Linked DNA regions of Homo sapiens: all the other regions are linked to region 1. The links are contacts of gene promoters, found by promoter capture Hi-C in blood cells and fetal thymus (Javierre and others, 2016). All regions are on one chromosome and are shown on one strand. Each heading gives the region's core, a stretch centred on a gene start or on the middle of the fragment in contact. The rest is flanking DNA. Distances are from core to core; before and after follow the strand shown.

Region 1 (3,401 bases), core at 778-3,277:
TGAGAACCACTGGGCTGAAGCAACAAAGGTCTCAGATAAGATATGCCTGAAAAAACACTATCTTCAAGAACTAAAACAACCTGGAATTCTCAGAAGGAACAGCTAAGGAGCTGTACATGGGAAGGTTCCAACCACTCTCCCTCACCAGCCGCTCAAGAGGGTAGTCCCCTCCCCCCTCAGGGGATACGTTCCAAGATCCCCAGTGGGTGCCTGAAACCTCAGGTAGTACTGAACCCTATATACACTACGCATGAATGTCTTTGAGGGCCATTATGAAGTAAAATAGGGGTTACCTGAACACAAGTACTTCCATACCGCAACAATTGGGTAAATGAAACCGCAGAAAGCAAAACCTTGGATGGGGCGGGCTACTGTAGTCGCTTTTGTTTTAAAATCACACACAAAACCTAACGGAATATAAGAAATATGAATGGAGAACTTGTCCTAGGAAAGGTGAAAGCTCTGTCAATACAGATCTGGGATGTATATGTATTAAATTACTTTGTTTCAAGGACAGACTTCTAGTTGGGCTTTTCATCTTGGAGAAGGAACAGTGTATACCACTTTCTCTCTCTACATCCGTATTTACCACCTGGTTTATTTACATGTCAGTTTTCTAACCTAGACTATAAGTTTTGAGGATGGGGTAGTGACTTATTCCTGTAATCGCACAGCTTGGCAACTAGAGGCCAATAAACGTTCAACGAATAAACAGACTACGTTTTTCCCTATCTTAAGGTCTAATTCTAAGCTCACAATCTTGCTGTGAGGTAAGCAAAATGTTTCCATGACAGGCTCTGGTAGGAGAAATCACTACCCTGCAGGAGTCCAGTGACAGGGTCTCCTAACCTACAACCACAGTCGTGGCTAGACAAGTTTTGAAAAGGAAGAAAATGAACATTCCAGCAACTACTGTATGTCTGATACTTAACACCCATTATTTCATTGAATCCAAACCACCCTGACGAGTAGGTAAAGTGAAATAGCGTTTTACTGGTGGGACTGACCAATGGCATTAGGATCTCAACTAGGCACCAAATCTCCTTTTATCAATGATGAAGTGCAAAATAAGGGTGCTGTTTCTACAATTTATCTTAATTCAACGCCGTACTAGTCTGCAAAACAATGAGCTAGAGAAAAGGAATAAACAGCTATAAAATGGTGATGACTGTGTGTTCAAATCATTGTGTTTAATGCCAGCTTCTCAGTGGTGAGTACGGAACAGGTGGAAATTCTAAAGCACGCTTGCTTATCTACTTGGTTTCGAAGTTTGTTATTAAGGGCCTCAGAGGAGTTCCATCTTGGGAATGATACGGTCTAGGCTCTAAAACCCACATTGAAACCCCAAGTTCGGAGAAGGGACTGGGTAAAATCACAACTAGTAGTAAATGTATCAGGCAGGAACCCACGTGTGCATCGCTCAGAAAGCTCTCCGTACTGCCCCAAGCGGTGTAAGACCTCACCGCTGAGATTTCTAAGCTATCTTTTGTTTTGCTCTCGGCTTTCGAAAATCAAAGCTGCCACCCGGCGGCCTCACGTGCAGCCCCGCTCCCCAACGCCCAGGCGGCCGCAGCTACCTTGGTGTCCACGTCGGCCAGGCAGTCCCGGCGGAAGCTGTCAAAAAGGCCCCGGCTCTTGAGCTGCTCCACGATGAGAGCGATGAGCTGCGGGTCGCCGGGAGGCAGCGAGGCCGGGTTGATGGGGCCACCGCCCCCGCTGGCCCCAGTAGCGCCAGTCGCTGCCCCGGCAGAGGCCTGGCTAGTTCCGCCGCCGCCCACCGCGCCAGTTCCCCCGCCGCCGCCGCCGTCCGCCATGGCTGCGCCCCGGGCCCACAAGGGAGAACGACTATAGCTTCTTCTCCAGGACAGAAGGCCTAGAACGTGTAGAGGTGGTGAAGGGGGCGGTGAAGGAGGAGGGCCCCAAGGCGGCAGCGGCGGAGGTGGCGATGGCGGCAGGGGCGGTGGTGGGGGCGGCGGCGGCGAAGGCCCCCTCTGATACAGCAGAGGTTGTGGTGGACGCGGCAGAAACGGCCTGCTCGATTCCAGGCGCACCCCAGATGGCGTCAACGTTGACCTTTGCATTGTGGGGCGGGAAGTTTTCTGTGGCCATCTCCGGCGTTCTTTATAGGCAGCGGCCTAGCCGAGAGAAACTACAACTCCCGGCAGGGTTCGTGCTTGCTCGTCGCGATTTCGCGGGGTAATATGGGAACTGTAGGCGCAGGCCTCGTGATCGCTGCAACCCGCCAGGCCTTCCCCGCCAGGCCTTCCCCGCCCACTCTCTGCTCACTTCCCATTCAATCAACACGTCCCAGCAGTGCCCGATTATAACAGTCATCTGTGGAGCTGATTAAAAGTATAGATTACCAGAATTATTTCTTAAAGATTTTTATCCAGTATTTACGGGTCGAGACCTAGCAATCTGTGCTTCAGCATGCACTCCCACGTCCTTCTTGAACAACATGTTCCGGGAAATTCCGGAAACAGTGGAACAGTCAAACTTCTATTGTTCAGAAATTTGTGAGTTTCCCTCCTTTTGGTTTTAATAGCAATGCATACTCATTTTAGAAAATTGGAAAATAACGGAAAAGTGTGAAGAAGAAAATAAAAGTTTTCCTTAAGTCTGTCTTATATGTGTGTGGATTTCCTCCCAAATATTAAATATTGTCAATCATAAGCCAATATTGAATAATTGAAAAGTGTCAGGCGTGATGCTATGCACTTTCCACGCACTTCTTCACGATAATTTAAAAAAGCAGATACATACTACTATTATTGCTATTTACAGACGTAGAAATGGAGGCAGAAGAAAGTTTGTTAACCTAATCACATACCTAGAGGTAGAAAAGTAGGATTTGAACCCAGGTTTTGAGGATCTAAATCTTGCATTTTAGCCTGAGGTATCCTGAGAGCTAGTTGGTATCCCACAATAGGTAAGGCTTTATATCCTGATTTTTTTAAGTAGCCACAATTCACCATTGGAATCCTATAGCTGCCACCATTATCCTCTCTTCCCTTCATCTTTTGCCTATTGTTAGCTCAGCTCCCCCTCCCAACCTCAGCAATTATGTCTGCTATTGTTGTTTCCTCATCTTACACAAGCAGCAGAGGGGATGTAAATAGCAAATTCTGCAATATCCTTGGCTCCTGCGAAGATGCAGAATTGGCAAAGATCCAGGATGTTCTCCACACCAATATTTAGTACTCAAGACAGTTTAATTTTTTTTTCTTTTTTTTTTTTGAGACAGAGTCTCACTCTATCGCCCAGGCTGGAGTGCAGTGGTGCAATCTTGGCTCACTGCAGCCTCCACCTCCTGGGTTCAAGCAATTCTCCTGCCTCAGCCTCCCGAGTAGCTGGGATTACAGGCGCATGCCACCATACCTGGCTAATTTTAGTATTTTTAG
Region 2 (3,401 bases), core at 869-3,368, 370 kb after region 1:
AAGCGATCCTCTCTCCTCGGCCTCCCAAAGTACTGGTATTACAGGCACCTGGCCATTGATGACATCTGAAATCAAAAAAACAGGAAAAGGATGGTGATTGGGTGAGGTCATGAGGTGCTTCTGCAGTGCACCATTTCTTAACCTTGGTGGATCTTACACAAGTATATTCACTGTGTAAAAATTCAGCCATCTACATAGTGATGATTTGTGCAGGTTTCTGCATATAATTTAATAACAAGTGTTTAAGAAAGTATGTCTCTGTCACTGCCTATTACTTTGGGGAAGTAACTTCACATTTTGGAGCCCCAGTTCCTCTGCCATAAAATGCTACATGAATTTAAAGAGATGGTCGGGTTGGGCGCAGTGGCTCACGCCTCTAATCTCAGCATTTTGGGAGGCCAAGGCTGGCAGATTGCTTGAGCCCAGGAGGTCAAGACCAGCTTGACCAACATAGCAAAACCTTCTTTCTACTAAAAATGCAAAAATTAGCCAGGCCAAAAATTAGCTGGGCGTGGTGGTGCACGCCTGCAGTCTCCGGAGGTTGAGGCAAGCGAATCGCTTAAACCTGGGAGGCAGAAATTGCAGTCAGCTGAGATTGCATCACTGGACTCCAGCCCTGGAGAAAGAGCAAGACTGACAAAAGAAAAAAAAAAAAGGGTTAGTGGAAACCTATTTGTAAAGTTTCAATGTAAAGAAATTACAATGTGCACCTCACAGTTTACGTCCTGAATGGATAACTATCTCTCACTGTGTGCCAGATGCTGAATATATGCCTTATTTTGATTTATCCTCACAACTCAGTTCTCCTGAGTTAACATTTGAAGACAATGGAGGCTCAGAGAAGGAAAGGGGCTGGGTGTGGTGGCTCACGCCTGTAATCCCAGCACTTTGGGAGGCTGGCGGATCACCTGAGGTTAGGAATTCAAGACCAGCCTGGCCAACATGGTGAAACCTGGCCTCTACTAAAAATACAAAAATAAGCGGGGTGTGGTGGCACATCCTCGTAATCCCAGCTACTCAGGAGGCTGAGGCAGGAGAATCGCTTGAATCTGGGTCGTGGAGGTTACAGTGAGCCGAGATCGCACCATTGCACTCCAGCCTGAGTGACAGAGCGAGACTCCGTCTCAAAAAAAAGAAAGAAAAAGAGAGAGAGAGGGAAAAGGGCTTGCCCAAATAACCCAGCTGGCCAGTGCCTAACCAGCTTGGGCCTCAGACCCCTGTCCCCCTACCCCTGTGTCTCTTGGGGATCACAGCTCCATCACTACCACCTGCCAGGCCAAGGGCATACTGGAACCTTCCGGCAGCCAAGGGCTCTGTGTTCTCCCCCAGGCTCCCAGCGTCACGTGGCTGATGCTCCAGGCTGCTCAAGTCCCGTGTGGGTTCCTCACTCTGAAATCCTCCCGCACCCAAGCATGGGGGCGTCTCCCTAGTAGTGACCTGGTCCCTTTCTCCCACCCTCTTCTTGGAGTAGCTCATTTCTTCTGAGGGGTCTGCACCTCGTCATCGTCCCCAACCCAACACCCGCCCTCTTCCCACTTCCCTCCATCTCCCCTGGGCCTCTCACCTCCCAGCAGCGTGCCCTTCCCCTACTCCTGCAGCCCACGCAGTGACCGGCTGCCTCGCTCCTCAAGCCCAGCTTTCTCCCTCCAGCCCCCCAGCAGTGGTCTGGCCCTAACTTCCCTGCCCCACCCTGCATGGTGGTCCCCGCCACCCCCACGTGGTGATCCGGCCTTAACCCCGTCACCCCATCCCTACTGGGTGGTCCTGCCCTAACCCCACCACCCCCATCCCTGCGAGGTGGTCCGGCCGTAACCCCCTCCCCCCATCCCCACGCGGTGGTCTGGCCCTAACCCTGTCACCGCATCCCTAGGGGGGTGGTCCGGCCCTAAACCCGTCCCCCTCATCGCGGTGCCATGGTCCGGCCCTAACCCTTTGTCCCCCCCATCCCCACAGGGTGGTCTGGTCCTAACCCCCCCCAATCCTCACGCGGTGGTCTGGCCCTAACTCCCTCCCCCCAATCCCCGCAGGGTGGTCTGGCCCTAACCGCTCCCGCATCCCTCGCCTGCACAGTGGGCAGTCTGGCGCCTGTGGCGTCGTGTTTGCTGAGGGCCCGGCTGCCGTTGACTGAGGCTGCGATGGCGGCGGCAGGCCGGGGTCGGGAGCAGGACTCGGCGCGCTTCGTCTATGTGACGCGCTTCGGCTCGCATCAGTGCAGTGGCGTCCTGCAACTGGGCGGCCGTGGAGCTCAAGGCCTTTGGGGTCAGGGGCCTGGGGCAGGCTGTCGCCAGGAGAAGCCGAGGGAAGCAATGGCGGTGGCGGGCGTTCAGGGTGGCAGCGAGCTGCCCCTCGGTTCCCAGCTCAGGGTCCCCACGACCCCTGGTGTGGAGGCTGCGGCCTCTGCCTCCTCCCAGCTGCGGGCATCGAGAGTTCAGAGCGGCACCAGACAGTCGGCGCGTGCAGGTGGTGCAGCGGGGCAGGGCGGGACCGGGCGCGGCGGGGCGGGACGGGGCGGAGCGGGCTCAGCTGCTGGGCGCCATCTTGCGGCACGCAGGAGGCTGGGGGCAGCTTTCCTGTCAGGCCGTGTTGCGAGCACGCGCAGGGGCGAAGGAGAAGCCCAGTAATTCCCTTCAGAGGGCCAGCTGTGGCCGGCACGGGCACCTGACATAAGAGGAGAGGTTGTTGAATGGAGCCTTTACGGCCCCCTCACGGAGGCTTTTGGCCTGCGTGTTTCCGTTCCAGCTGAGTGAGATTCGTTGACTTCGCAAACCCCCTCACCTGGAGGATTGACTTCCGGATGCTGTTGAGTCATCCTGGCTAAAAACAGCATGAGCTTTACGTTTAAATCAGGAAATGTCTTCAATTCAAAAATTATCCTCCCATAGGTTTTGCATATGTCTTGATCAACTTATTCCTAAATATTTAATCTTCTTTGCTGTTGTAAATGGGGTTTCTTTTTACGAAATGCCCTCTAAATGCTCACTGTGTATAGGAAGCCAATTTTTTTTTTTTTTTTTTGAGACGGGGTATTGCTGTGTCACTCAGGCTGGAGTGTGGTGGTCCAATCACAGGCTCACTGCAGCCTTGACCGCAGCCTTGACCTCAGCCTCCCGAGTAGCTGGGACCACAGGTGGGCACCTCCATGCCCAGCTACTTTTTTTATCTTTTGTAGACATGGGGGGCGGGGGGGTCTCCCTGTGTTACCCAGGCTGGTCTCGAACTCCTGGGCCCAACTGATCCTCCTGCCTCAGCCTCACAGCCCTGGGATTACATGCATGAGCCACTGGGCCAAGCCTTTCTTGGTTTTTCTTTTTCTTTCTTTTTTTTGAGATGGAGTCTTGCCCTGTTGCCCAGACTAGAGTGCAATGACGTGATCTTGGGTCACTGCAACCTACGCTCCCCTG
Region 3 (2,999 bases), core at 269-2,768, 320 kb after region 1:
TACTTCAAAAATGAACCTTGTGGCAGGAGAAAGTTATAGAGCAAAAAAAACGTGTTAAGTTTTAACAACTCATATATGTATTTTCTTTCCTTTGAGGAAGTGATTAGTAAGAGATCTATTAAGGGTAGCACAGAACAACATTTCTTTCCTTTTTTTTTTTTTTTTTTTTTTGAGATGAAGTCTGTTCTGGACTGATCCAGACTCCAGTCTGATCCAGGCTGGAGTGCAGTGGCTCCATCTCGGCTCACTGTAGCCTCCATCTCCCAGGTTCAAGCAATTGTCCTGCCTCACCCTCCCAAGTAGCTGAGATTACAGGCACCTGCCACCATGCCCAGCTAATTTTTGTATTCTTAGTAGAGATGGGGTTTTACAATGTTGGCCAGGCTGGTCTCGAACTCCTGATCTCAAGTGATCGGCCTGCCTCGGCCTTCCAAAGTGCTGGGATTACAGGTGTGAGTCACCTCACCCGGCCCAACATCTCTTAATTATAGTTTTTTGGAATGAAAAGAGGAAGATTGTTTGCTTGGGAGGGGGAAGAAATCTATCAAAAAGGAAGGTGTAATTTACTCAAGAGAAATGTAGATGATGATCACTTACTGAAAATGTGTGTAATATGGTTCTAGTTGCTACAATAATAAGCATGTTGAAAGATCCCTTCATTGAAAAGATAATATGAAAACAAACTGTAAACTCTAAAGTGCTCTACAATTGTTAACCTTAAAATGCTAATGAAAAGCTGAGAATAATTGTTGAAGATCATACTCAGAATATATGCATATGAATTTACTTTTGGGAAAGGGAGATTATTTATTGAGTATGTGACTGACCATTACATATACACATTGTGTTTTTCATTATTCTCTCATTTGCTTCCCATTTTTATAAATAAAGAAACTGAGGGTTAGGGACATAAGGAAACTAGAGTTGCATTCTCTGCTCTTTTCTAAGGTAGGCCTTACAAATAATAGTGTCTTTATCATATCTTAGGAACATTCTTTGAATGTTGTTGTACCAACAAGCTAATATAAGCATAAGCCAATGTGATAGGAATTTCTAACTATAAAGCAAATGTAAATTAATTTTGTGGCAGTGAGCCTATTAAATTAGGGATTAATTTATAAAATCATTTAAAATGGTTCTTTGCATCTTTGTTGAATCGTATGCTTTGGTCTTTGTGATGATTGTGTCTGCTTTTTGGTTCTACCATCTTTATTCTTTTGTTCACAGATTAATTCCTTTTAGCTTCAAGCCTTTGATTTATATCTTTTCAACTGATTTACTAATTTGGCTAATTTCTACACTCCTCTCCCCATATATTTTCTTTTAGTCCTCCTGGAAAAGTCAGGTTGTTTTGTTTTGTTTTGTACTGTTTTGAGACGGAATCTCGCTCTGTTGCCCAGGCTGGAGTGCGGTGGTGCAATCTCAGCTCACTGCAATCTTTACCTCCCGGGTTGAAGCAATTCTCCTGCCTTAGCCTACCAAGTAGCTGCGATTACAGGCATGTGCCACCACACCCAGCTAATTTTTATATTTTTAGTATAGACAGGGTTTTACCATATTGGCCAGGCTGGTCTCGAACTCCTGACCTCAAATGATCTGCCCACCTCAACCTCCCAAAGTGCTGGGGTTATAGGTGTTAGCCACCATGCCTAGCCAAAAGAAGCCAGTTATCTGATAACATCTTATCATCTGAGCTACACCCCCCTTTTTTTTCCAGATAGAATTGCTATTTGTCTTCTCACCTTGGGGCAGAGAGAGGTGCACAGTTGGAGAGCCTAAGGTAGATCAGCGTAACCCGAATAGGATCCGTTTTTTCATTGTCCACTAAAACATAGTAATATCTTATCCTTCATGGCCTAAAGTCCTATTCGTGACAGAATTGATTAGGTGCTGTCATGTAGGAAAGTATGCTTTTGTATGAAAGTAATAATGTCATTTGTTCATTTTTAATATTAGTACCAAGGAGAAAACCAAAAAGGGTTCATTAACAAATATAGCAATATAGCATATGCAATAATAATAAATTCAAATGGTACAAAAAGGGATAAAACAAGAAGTGAATGCCTTCTTTCCTCTTTCTAGAAGTTTCTCTCTCCAAAGGTTCTTGTGGTTGTTTCTAGAAAAAAGTATTTCATGGCCAGGCGCAATGGCTCATGCTTACAATCCTAGCACTTGGGGAGGCCCAGGTGGATGGATTTCTTGAGCCCAGGAGTTGAGACCAGCCTGGGCAACATGGCAAAACCCCATCTCTATAAAAATAAAAATAAAATAAAAAGTAAAAAGATTTTATGCATAGTCCCACATATCTATTTATATTTTCTTTATTTTTAAATGTACACAATAAGGATTCTACAATACACACTTAGACACTGCATGCAGGCCAGCATCTTAGAGAGCTTTAGGTACATGAACGTGAGCCACATTTAAAAATGCCACATGCTCAGTTAATAGGGTTGCTCCTTTGAAATACGTACATACATACATACATACATACATACATACAAATGCCACCTACTAGGTGTTTCTTCTTTTGAATGTGTGGGTACTTTGTTTCTTTTTGATTATTACAAATGTTGCAACAAATGAGAAAAAAGTACTTTTTATGGGATAAATAATATTTTATTTTTATAATAAAATGTATGGGGAGGGAGAAAGTCAGGGGAGCCCTGACAAGTCTTTCTGTACCTTCTTCGTAAGTCTGGCATTACAGATTAATGGAACATTTTGCTAGAGGGAATTTGATTCTGCATATAGGGCTAATAACAAGGAAAGGAAGCATTTGTAAGCAATCCTGTAAAGACGTTTTAGAAATAAAGTATATCAATAGATCTAATAGCAGGTATCCAGAAGTTATAAAAATTTATGGCCATAATATTTTGAGCCTTTTTTTTTTTTTAACAATCTTGAATCCTGTTAGTTCTGAACATTAAATTATTGAGGACTTTATAAATCAAAACTAGGCTGGACACGGTGGCTCACGCCTGTAATCCTAGCACTTT
Region 4 (3,074 bases), core at 470-2,969, 310 kb after region 1:
CTCAATTTCCTCACCTGTAAACGGAGGGGTTGAACTTAATGATCTTTACATTACCATCAGCAATTCAGTCTTACATTACAAAACTGGAGGTACAGTTTTATATTTTAAAACTGAAGGTTTTTATGGTGTAATGACTGAAAGTAGCCCATGAATATCATGTGATTCTGGGTGTGGCAGTATTTCATATGGAGTAGTTTGTATAAGGGCTATAATCAGAGATCAGATTTAGTCGGTTGAGTGAAGGCTTTGGGTCTAAACTACATCTTTTCTTTTTGAGATAGGCCTAAAAATATTATGTTTAGAAAACAGTTGTTTAAACTTGGCCTCGTGAAATGTTTTTGTTCTCCATTTGTGAACCATGGGCCTCTTCAGCCATGGGAATTATTTGATAGAGCCTGTGAACCCATTAGTGACCAGGCATTCCAGTTAGATGATAGATGTCACTTGTGTATGCATGATTATCTTCCAAAAGCATGTGGATGCTGATGTAATGCAATTAAAATACATTTAAAGGTGTTGCTGAGTTCATAGTAGCCTTCTGATATTAAGATTTTTTTTTGTTTTTGTTCTGTTTTACTTAGGGTAGAGACAGGGGTAGGAGTCTTCAGTTATTATTATGGAGGAAAGCCTCTCTGAAATATTTTGATCAAAGTAGGTCTTAATAGTTATTACAACAGATTATGAAATACTGCTCTAGAGAACTTCCCTAATTTTTCTGCTTTATACTCTTGCCATTAGAATGCTCCTTGTTACAAAAAAGAACATAACATAAAAAAGGAATTTAACAGAGGAAATGGTGAGGAGGAGGACAGGGAGGAGTGAGGAGGCTACTGACGCTCTCCTAAATTGTCCTCTCCACCAAGTAGCATTTTGGAGCTTCCTGACATCTGAAGCCATCTTTATTCCTTTGTAGCAGGGTTAAGAATATGGGCTGCTGAGGCTACATCCTGCATGATGCCAGGGGGTAGAGGGAGCCATCTGACGAGATGGGTGCACTCCGTGTTGTATAACATGGCAGTTCTTGTTAGGAGGGGGAGGCAAGTGCTACTAAAGCCTCTTTAAGCCACATGGTTTGGAAGTGTCTTATATTTTAGCTTCTGCTTATACTCCACCTCCACAAATATTTGAACATATTCAATGTGCCAGGTAGATTGAAGGATAGTTTTGATGCTGTGCTGCATTTTTCCTTTTCGAGGTAGACCTGGACATTCTGTATGGGAAGCAGCATTAACCAGTTTCAAGTGAAAGGGTGCTTACCTCTGATACCATTTCTCTTTTATTCAGTGCCCCTTCTGAGAATTATTTGTAACCCAGATCCTTACGGTAACCTGTTATGTGAGTTTTGTGGTCTTCATTTTACAGTTGAAAAGAATTGGAGATCCCAAAGATGCAACAGCTTCTGTAAAGTCACTCAGATTCCTGGTACCTACAAGGGTCAATATAGGAGGAACACACAGCTTCTGGCTCCTGGTTCAATGGCCTGAGTATTTATTGTGTAGCCTCTGAGAAGGAAACAAACATAAGAAAATGGAAACATTTTTGTCTAGTATGCTTTGACAGAGGGTAGGCATTCAATTTTTTTTTCTCTTTCTCTTTCTTTCTTTCTTTTTTGAGACAGGGTCTAGCTCTGTTGTCCATCCTGGAGTGCAGTGGCACAATCTTGGCTCACTGCAGCCTCCGCCTCCTGGGCTCAAACGCTCCTCCCACTTCAGCCTCCCAAGTAGCTGGAACTACAGGTGCCTGCCAGTGCACCTGGCTAATTTCTGTATTTTTTGCAGAAATGGGGCTTTGCCATGTTGCCTAGGCTGGTCTCAAACTCCTGGGCTCAAGCAATTCACCTGCCTTGGCCTCCCAAAGTGCTGGGATTACAGACATGAGCCATCATGCCTGGCCAAGATTTCTTAATTTCAATTTAGGAGATGGTACAAAATTTAAAAATCTGTATTTTATCATAATCTATGAAAGATTCACACATCACAGTTGGCTGGTTTCATACTGAAGTGTGCCTTATTGGGAGTGGAAACTTTTCCAAGTTGACTTGTTCTCTTCCCTGATTCTGATTCACCAGATTTGCCATGGGACTTAAGCATGTGCATTCTTCATGTGATTCAGATACACTTCCTTCGCTTCCCACCCCCAACTTTTGCGCTGCTTTGGATGTATATGTAAAGTCCAGAGCTGTCTGAGGCCATTCATACAACAAATATACATCAGGCATCTACTGTGCACCAGGTACTATGGTTGTTGGGATATATCAGGGACTAACTAAAAACAAAGGTTCCTGGCTTCATGCAGCTTATTTTCCAAATAATTACCAGACATCTTTGAATATCCTGTTTATTATTTAATTTAGAAGATTAATAAGAGGAAAAGTAAGAACCCAGAGTATTGATAGGAGAAAATAGGTAGTGGGCCTTCTGAGAAATAACAAAAGGTGAAATTCTTATATCAGATATAAAATGCAAGTCCATTTTTCATTAAGGTTCAGAAAAGTTGTCAGAATTCATGTTAAGTAAGTGACTAGAGTTAATGATAGATAGGTCTGTATGCAGAAAGCCAACTAGTGACTTTGCAGATTGCTTTTTGGGGTTTGGACTTCAGTAAACAGTTTTAATGCAACTTTTTATCAGTGTAGTAGCATTCTATTTTATAAAATAATGGTTATAAATAAGAAACTCAGTCTTAATTCTCTTTAGTTTCTGTAGTCAGAGAAAAGTCTAATTAGATCTCTTGTGGCTTCTCTCTCTTATCTCTAAAGTTCTCAATCATTTACACTGACTTAGCTTGTGGTCCCTAGAGATTTCATAAGTTTATCTTGGTGTTTTTTTATGTTCATGTCAGCACAGAGAGCCATTTGTCAAAATTATTTTCACCTTGGGGCCAGTTCTTTATTCATTGGTTCTTTTAATATATGTCTCTTGTAACACATGCTTCTTTTAAGCAAACTTTTTGCAAGGTAGGAGAATTTTAATTTACTGCCTTGGCTTTTTTTCTGGATTGCTTTAATTTTTTCTACTACTTGGTCTGTTTTTCCACTTTTCTTTCCATTATATTTTTTTCACCTTTTTTTTTCC
Region 5 (3,391 bases), core at 687-3,186, 350 kb after region 1:
TATAGTATTCTCAAGACTAGAAGAGGTTCTTGTCCTGAGAGAAATGGACTATGAGATCTTTTGCGTCTAAGTTGTCTTTCCCAACAGGCAGCTCTTCTAACTATAGAGATTACTGAGGGTAAGGGCAGGCTGGACAGCTTCCCCTTTCTCTCATCTGGCAATTCCCAAACCTTACGTTGAGCATTCAATGAAGGGCCTTGAGGAAACCCCAGGGATGGGACACTGGAGATGTGGGTGGCATTTGGTTATCAAGTCTATAATATTCCTAGGCATTCTGGGATGGTTTCACTATTTTAAGAAAAGAAAAAAAAGATAGCCCAAGCATATTTAGTTTATTTTAGGAAATGTTTATTTCAGGTAAGTGAGATATCAATGATATGTGATATAACAACTCTATCTTGAAATTACATAGGTGCATTGCTTTGGGTGTTTTAAATCACAGAATGGTGTGTCTGGAAAGGGTGTAAGAGGCTTCCTGGGCTATATTTCTTCATTCACTGATTGCCTAAACCTACCCAACGAGGAAAATTCTTTTTATTTTTATCTTTTGTTTTTACTGTCTAACCAGATGAATAAACAGTGGAAATTCTCTACCACACTCTTAACAATCAAGTCATTTCATAACCCCTTTTGGTAATGGGTGTTTGTGTCCACAGCTAGATCAGAAAGTAAGTACTTTTTCTAGGGATTTTTTTTTTTTTTTAAGTTTGGGAAATAGTTTGATCAAAAGTCATGGGGAAAGTAATCTCTGATTTTAAAAATTGAAGAATACTGAAGGTGTCAGTGAGTTAGAAATTTTTAAGGAGTAATTATTTTCTGAAATGTGTAATAACCGAATAATAAACAAGACAAAACTCTAATATTTCAGACTGTGATCTTCAGAGGACTAGGATAGTCCTTTCCACAAGAAAAAGACAAAAAAAAATAAAGTTTTACCATTAAATACACTTAGAAAATGGGTCACCTTGTTTCTTGCAAAGTCAAAATAATGCACATTTGCACATTAGCTTATTAAGACTTCAAGAAATTCTACAATGAAGAAATCTTTTTTATTTTATTTTATTTTATTTTATTTTATTTATTTATTTTTTTGAGATGGAGTTTTGCTCTTGTTGCCCAGGCTGGAGTGAGTGCAATGGTGTGCTCTCAGCTCACTGCAACCCCTGCCTCCCGTGTTCAAGCCATTCTCCTACCTCAGCCTCCAAAGTAGCTGGGATTACAGGCATGCACCACCATGCCCAACTAATTTTGTATTTTTAGTAGAGATGGGGTTTCTCCATGTTGGTCAGGCTGGTCTCGAACTCCTGACCTCAGGTGATCCGCCCGCCTTGGCCTCCCAAAGTGCTGGGATTACAGGCGTGAGCCACCGTGCCCAGCCAGAAACCTATTTACTTTGTTGAAAGTGTCCCTCTCACTCCAATTTCTCTGACTACAGATTCTGTTTACAGGTAACACATGGAACATACTTTGGGCTATACCACTGTAACATTTTAGTATGTTTCAAGAAGCTTTGAAACCCCACTTTGTTTTTTGGCATCCATACATGTGTTCTGGAAGGGTGCTTGGCCCTGCCACTTGTGAGCCACTTTCAGAGCTGCTTTCATTGCCCACACCTACTTTACTGGAGTTCTAGGTACTTACGTAGCTTCTAAGCCCTGTCCTAGTTCCAGTGCATCCTCCTAATTCGTCTTCCCTCTACTACCATCCCAGAAGAAAGAAAAAGAGAAGTTACTTTGCACAATAAAGCTATTTTGATTATGCTTTTCACTGTCTCAGACCAGCCCTTGTTTCTCATGAGTGCCTCAAATGCCACTTGAGACAAGCAGCTAGTGCTTTGAATCTGCCATTCTATGATATGCTGTCTCCCTTTCTCATCATTCCTATATCCTCCTTCAAAATTTTCTTTTGCAAACTTCCCTCAGCACCCCTCACCCGCTGATTCTCTTGAGAATAGGCGCCACTGGCTTTGAATAAATTCTAAGAATTTAGAAAATGAACATTTGCGCCCCACTAGGAACTCTTACCTAGCAATACCAATTCAGTCGTCCTCATTAGAGAACATTTTATTTTGCCGTGCCTTGAGTCTTCTCAGGATATTTTGGGTTATCATCTTTCTCTAGTCAAGCTGGGTGTCATTGTTGGCTGTCTGGAAAAAGTGTCTTATTGTGATTCAGCGTGGTGACCAGAGTTGGAAAAGTACACATTGTCTCAGGGAAGTTAAAAATGAACAGCAGCATCCCAAATCAGAATGTGAGCAAACCTCCAGCCTTTAGTATTGCGTGTAATTTGATTCAGTGTCAGGGAAAAACTGCCTGTGGGTAGCTGGGCTGGAGGTGGTGAATCAGTGCACGCAAATGCCAGCAGCTAAGCTTGAGCTTTCTTTATCCTTTTCATCGGAGTTCTATTTCAGGAAGCCCGGCTTTGATACCCTAAAAATGTCAATGTGATCAAGCAAATGTCACCATTTTAAAGAGATTATTTTCAACTCTTCTCCCACCTCCCTGTGAGACCTAGGAGTGACTCCCCAGAACCCACCAAAGGCAGCAGGGCATTTTAAACTCGTGAAATCAGTTACCCAGGAAGAGAACCGGGAGGGGTGGTGGTAAAATAATTATGTGAAGCTGCAAAGAATGTTTTAGCTAGGATCCAAGAAAGACCTGGCGCTTCCTTATTTGGAGGAATGAAGGTGATACAGGAGCTAAAAGGAAATTATTTAGGCGGTTAGCGAGGGTAAGAGAGTCCTCAGGCTTCCCTTTTAACAAAAAGCAGCCCCCAAATCATTTCTTTTCTAACAAAGAGCAGCCTGTAAAATCGAGCTGCAGACATAAATAAGCAAGCTGGAAGCCTGCATAGGTAAATGCCGGCAGCTGTGCCAACAGGAAAAGGCTAGCTGGGGGCCAGGCATGTTCAACATGGAGGCTCCCTCTTCCTTTTCTTTGTCGCTATGTGTGCAGTAGAAAGGCAGGCAACATGGCGTTGGCCAGGTAGAGACCCCCATCTGCATAATAAAAGATTAGGGTGGGATGGCCAGCTTCTTTGTGCGTGATGCAAGTGTCACGCCTGGTCCGACCAATCTCTCTGGCCCTACGTGAATCAGACACGCCTCCTCAAGCTCATCTATAAAATCCCATGCATTTCATTGTGGAGCCGGAAGTCCCACCCGGGAGCCCCTCTCTCTCCTAAGAGAGAGAGCTATTCTCTTTCTTTTGCTTATTGAACCTCCAGGGTTAAACTCACTTCTTGTATGTCCGCGTTGTTGATTTCCCTGGCACGAGACGACGAACCTCGGGTACTTACCCCAGACCACAACGCCGCTTCAAAGGCACAATTCCCCTTTCATGTTTGAGGGAAAAGTGCTGTGGGTCCTTGAGTGTTTGGTGACAGAAGGTTT
Region 6 (3,196 bases), core at 641-3,140, 280 kb after region 1:
ACCCGTGTGTAACTGGTGTGTGATAATTTGAACTTAATTTTATTTTTTGAGACAAGGTCTCATTCTGTTGCCCAGACTAGAGTGCAGTAGCGCGATCTTGGTTCACAGCAACCACCACCTCCTGGGTTTAAGCAATTCTCGTGCCTCAGCCTCTCCAGTAGCTGGGACTACAGGCATGTGCCACCAGGCCCATCTAATTTTTGTACCTTTTAGTTCACCATGTTGGCCAGGCTGGTCTCGAACTCTTGACCTCAGGTGATCCGCTCGCTTTGGCCTCCGGAAGTGCTGGGATTATAGGCGTGAGCCACCGCACCTGGCCTGAACTTAATTTTAAATAAATAAAATACAATTCCTAAAGTCACTATACTTAAATAATGGTGGGACTGAGGCTAGATGACACACTGATTTTCTTGAACACTGCTGAAAGTGACCAACTGGTGATATTTTTTTTCTCTCTTGGTAAAGCACCCCCTGACCCATGTCTTCTTAAATTTTTATTATGGAAAAATTTAAATATATTCCATGGTAGACAGAATAGTCTAGTGAACTCCCATGTATGTGTCACCTGGCTTCAACAATTATCAGCTCCTGGACAATCTTGTTTCATCTATACCCTTAATCCTCTCTCTCCCCATTTGTATTATTTTGAAGCAATTGCTTCATATCATATTATTTCATCTGTAAATGGTTCAGTATGTGTCTCTAGAGGAGTCTTTAAGAGAAAACATTAAAATTTTTTTCAAGTTGTTTTTTTAAAGAAGGGTAGTGAGAAACTGAAGCAAGGCCCACATTTCTGTTGTACCTGCTCAGTCTGTTTCACTGCTCAACCTGGTGCCAATAGTGGTGGACCACTGTTGGCTTCATCTTCTCTTTCTGTAACATAGAAAAATAAGAGATCCAGTTAAAGCACCCAAATACCAGCTAGTGATTCGAAATTTGGGAGGAGAGTATACCGTTTTCCTCCCTTCATCTTATCCTTTCTCTAGGTTCACACTTCTGTGGACTTGTGGGCAAGACCTCTGAAAGGAAAGATGAGTGAGAGAACAGGACAGGACTGAGCTTTTATGGTTGCTGTCTTTTTTGTTTTTCTGTTTTTTAAGAGGAATGTAGAGGTTTGGGGTCCCTTGCAGACTTTTAGACTGCATCAACTTTTTACATTTCTTGCTTGCTTTCAGTGCACAAATGTTTGATGCTTTTGAAGGGCCATGGGCTGAGGATGCTTAGCTATGGCAAACGTGATACTTCTGCTCCTGAAGTGCACTGGCCAGTGACCTCCTCTTTGTGCTTGAGTGTTGAGGAGTGCCTTCTGCCCAGGAGATTCTGGAGAACTGTGGATGGGGGTCGGGGGGTGTTGTGAGAGTCTGGAAATGTGGAGGCTGGGCACAAGCTGCCTTTTGAGATCACTGTCAAGGCTCACAGAAGAGATGTCGAGGGTTACAAGACATAAGCTTCAGTTTAGGAATAAAGGTTGTGCATTGGCCAGGTGTGGTGGCTCACGCCTGTAATCCCAGCACTGCGAGAGGCTGAGGTGGGCGGATCACCTGAGGTCGGGAGTTCGAGACCAGCCTGACCAATATGGAGAAACCCCATCTCTACTAAAAATACAAAATTAGCCTGGTGTGGTGGCGGGCGCCTGTAGTCCCAGCTATTCTGGAGGCTGAGGCAGAATAATCACTTGAACCCAGGAGGCAGAGGTTGCAGTGAGCCGAGATCGCGCCATTGCACTCCAGCCTGGACAACAACAGCGGAACTCTGTCTCAAAAAAAAAAAAAGTTGTACATTAGGGTGGACCCCTCTCCCTGCTGACGCCGGACCCTGCTCAGACCTAGCAGACATGGAGAACAGGAACTCTAACAGCCAGTTGAGGTCTAAATAACTTCATTCCTCAAGGCTGAGTGTTAGTATTGTTTACCTGCTTTCCTTGAACTAATGACTTCTTGCCCTGAATAGTTTATTAGGGAGAAGTCTTATACTGATAGTTTTGGGGTCATAGGTTTGAACATATTTTGATTATCTCTATGAAAACAGGTTATAGAAAATAGCACAGAATCACTGACTTATTCAGATACAACCGATATCTAATTTAAAATGTGAGTTTCATGCTTTTTTTCATTGCACCATAGAAGGGGCAGAGAAATGTTTATTGAATGAGTTCACTAACCGCCATGCTTTGTGCTCCTGCTGCCCATATACCTTATCTCACTGGCTTTTCACTACAGATTTATAAGGGAGGTGCTATTATCCTCGTTTTGCTGATGAAATTAAGGTTCAATGATATTGCAGCATCAAGATCACTTGCTTAGTATGTTTGATACTTAGTATCACAAGTATCAAAGCTTGTGATAGATTTTAATTATTTCTCTCTGCTAGGCAAGATTAGTATGAACAAATTGTCAAGAAGAAGAAAAGGTCTATTGATTCAGGAACTGACTGACTAATCAAGCCTAGAATGGTCATTTGGTTTTTTAATACAAATAAGTGATGACAAGAAATGTTTATCATTTTAAGGATTTATAATGCTCAAAATGAATGTGATTTATTTAGTAAAGGTGCAATAAAAAATGTTCTCAGAGGCTTTCTGGAGAGATCTTATTTGTCAATTAACATGGCAACCAAATGGAGCTGTTGATCCAAGGTAATACACTGAAGACATTCATTCATTTAGTTGTAGATCATAATTCTATTAGGGAACATGTGGTAACCTAAGATCTGTTAGACTCTACCTTCATTACAGGAGCTATAATGAAAAAGTACTGATTGAAGAGGGAACTTGCAAAGAAATATGAGATGCTGTTAAATGTGGTCCCTCCTGCTTCAGATAATTACCACTTTAACTTTAATCTCTGATGCTCGTTGTCTTCATTCAGGCCACGTATATATAGTGAAGGATTTCATACCTGGCAGGTAATAATAGAGCAAAAATTCTAGGCCCAAACAAAACTTCACTTAAACCACTTTTCCTGAACATCTGCTCTGAAGTCAGACTCGACCACTTACTGTGTGACTTTGTAGGGCAATTAGTTAACTTCTCCTAGCTTCATTTGCCTACGATGGGGAAAATAAATGACAGTACTGACTTCATATGATGGTTGTGAGGAACTAATATATGTAAATGTTATGTAATTCATGTAAGATGCACAACACAGAGCCAGGAGGAACATGTTAGCCACTTTCTATATCAGTGGCGATGGCTTTA

The links. Contacts are between HindIII fragments. The CHiCAGO score rates a contact against its expected background, and 5 or more counts as called.
Region 2: a contact is called between a fragment that was not itself captured here and the fragment with the promoter of BOD1 in region 1, in 17 of 17 cell types (activated CD4 T cells, naive CD8 T cells, neutrophils and 14 more). The highest score is 18.4, in activated CD4 T cells.
Region 3: a fragment that was not itself captured here is called in contact with the fragment with the promoter of BOD1 in region 1 in 17 of 17 cell types (total B cells, naive B cells, neutrophils and 14 more); the score reaches 20.3 in total B cells.
Region 4: a contact is called between a fragment that was not itself captured here and the fragment with the promoter of BOD1 in region 1, in 17 of 17 cell types (naive CD8 T cells, total CD8 T cells, activated CD4 T cells and 14 more). The highest score is 53.8, in naive CD8 T cells.
Region 5: a fragment that was not itself captured here is called in contact with the fragment with the promoter of BOD1 in region 1 in 17 of 17 cell types (neutrophils, monocytes, non-activated CD4 T cells and 14 more); the score reaches 37.6 in neutrophils.
Region 6: a contact is called between a fragment that was not itself captured here and the fragment with the promoter of BOD1 in region 1, in 16 of 17 cell types (total B cells, neutrophils, naive B cells and 13 more). The highest score is 14.1, in total B cells.

Annotation. Positions count from the first base shown.
Region 1 is chr5:173,614,623-173,618,023 of GRCh38, forward strand. It overlaps BOD1 (biorientation of chromosomes in cell division 1), which reads right to left and starts at 2,028. Exons shown (of 4, transcript NM_138369.3): 1 at 1,578-2,028. The coding sequence starts at 1,814. RefSeq lists silencers at 1,835-1,884, 1,895-1,964 and enhancers at 1,945-2,204, 2,225-2,304. The HindIII fragment of the contact is 8,451 bases long and covers 1-3,401 here.
Region 2 is chr5:173,987,129-173,990,529 of GRCh38, forward strand. It overlaps C5orf47 (chromosome 5 open reading frame 47), which reads left to right and starts at 2,042. Exons shown (of 5, transcript NM_001144954.2): 1 at 2,042-2,460. The coding sequence starts at 2,136. The HindIII fragment of the contact is 5,296 bases long and covers 1-3,401 here.
Region 3 is chr5:173,936,871-173,939,869 of GRCh38, forward strand. All of the region lies in intron 3 of CPEB4 (cytoplasmic polyadenylation element binding protein 4), which reads left to right. Among named protein-coding and RNA genes, the nearest start is that of CPEB4, 50 kb to the left of the region's middle. The HindIII fragment of the contact is 5,398 bases long and covers 1-2,999 here.
Region 4 is chr5:173,920,638-173,923,711 of GRCh38, forward strand. All of the region lies in intron 2 of CPEB4 (cytoplasmic polyadenylation element binding protein 4), which reads left to right. Among named protein-coding and RNA genes, the nearest start is that of CPEB4, 34 kb to the left of the region's middle. The HindIII fragment of the contact is 6,186 bases long and covers 1-3,074 here.
Region 5 is chr5:173,961,030-173,964,420 of GRCh38, forward strand. CPEB4 (cytoplasmic polyadenylation element binding protein 4) reads left to right here. Exons shown (of 10, transcript NM_030627.4): 10 at 1-951. Among named protein-coding and RNA genes, the nearest start is that of C5orf47, 26 kb to the right of the region's middle. RefSeq lists enhancers at 2,408-3,391, 2,502-3,384. The HindIII fragment of the contact is 861 bases long and covers 1,507-2,367 here.
Region 6 is chr5:173,898,647-173,901,842 of GRCh38, forward strand. The region is part of intron 1 of CPEB4 (cytoplasmic polyadenylation element binding protein 4); the gene reads left to right. Among named protein-coding and RNA genes, the nearest start is that of CPEB4, 12 kb to the left of the region's middle. RefSeq lists a silencer at 3,080-3,196. The HindIII fragment of the contact is 888 bases long and covers 1,447-2,334 here.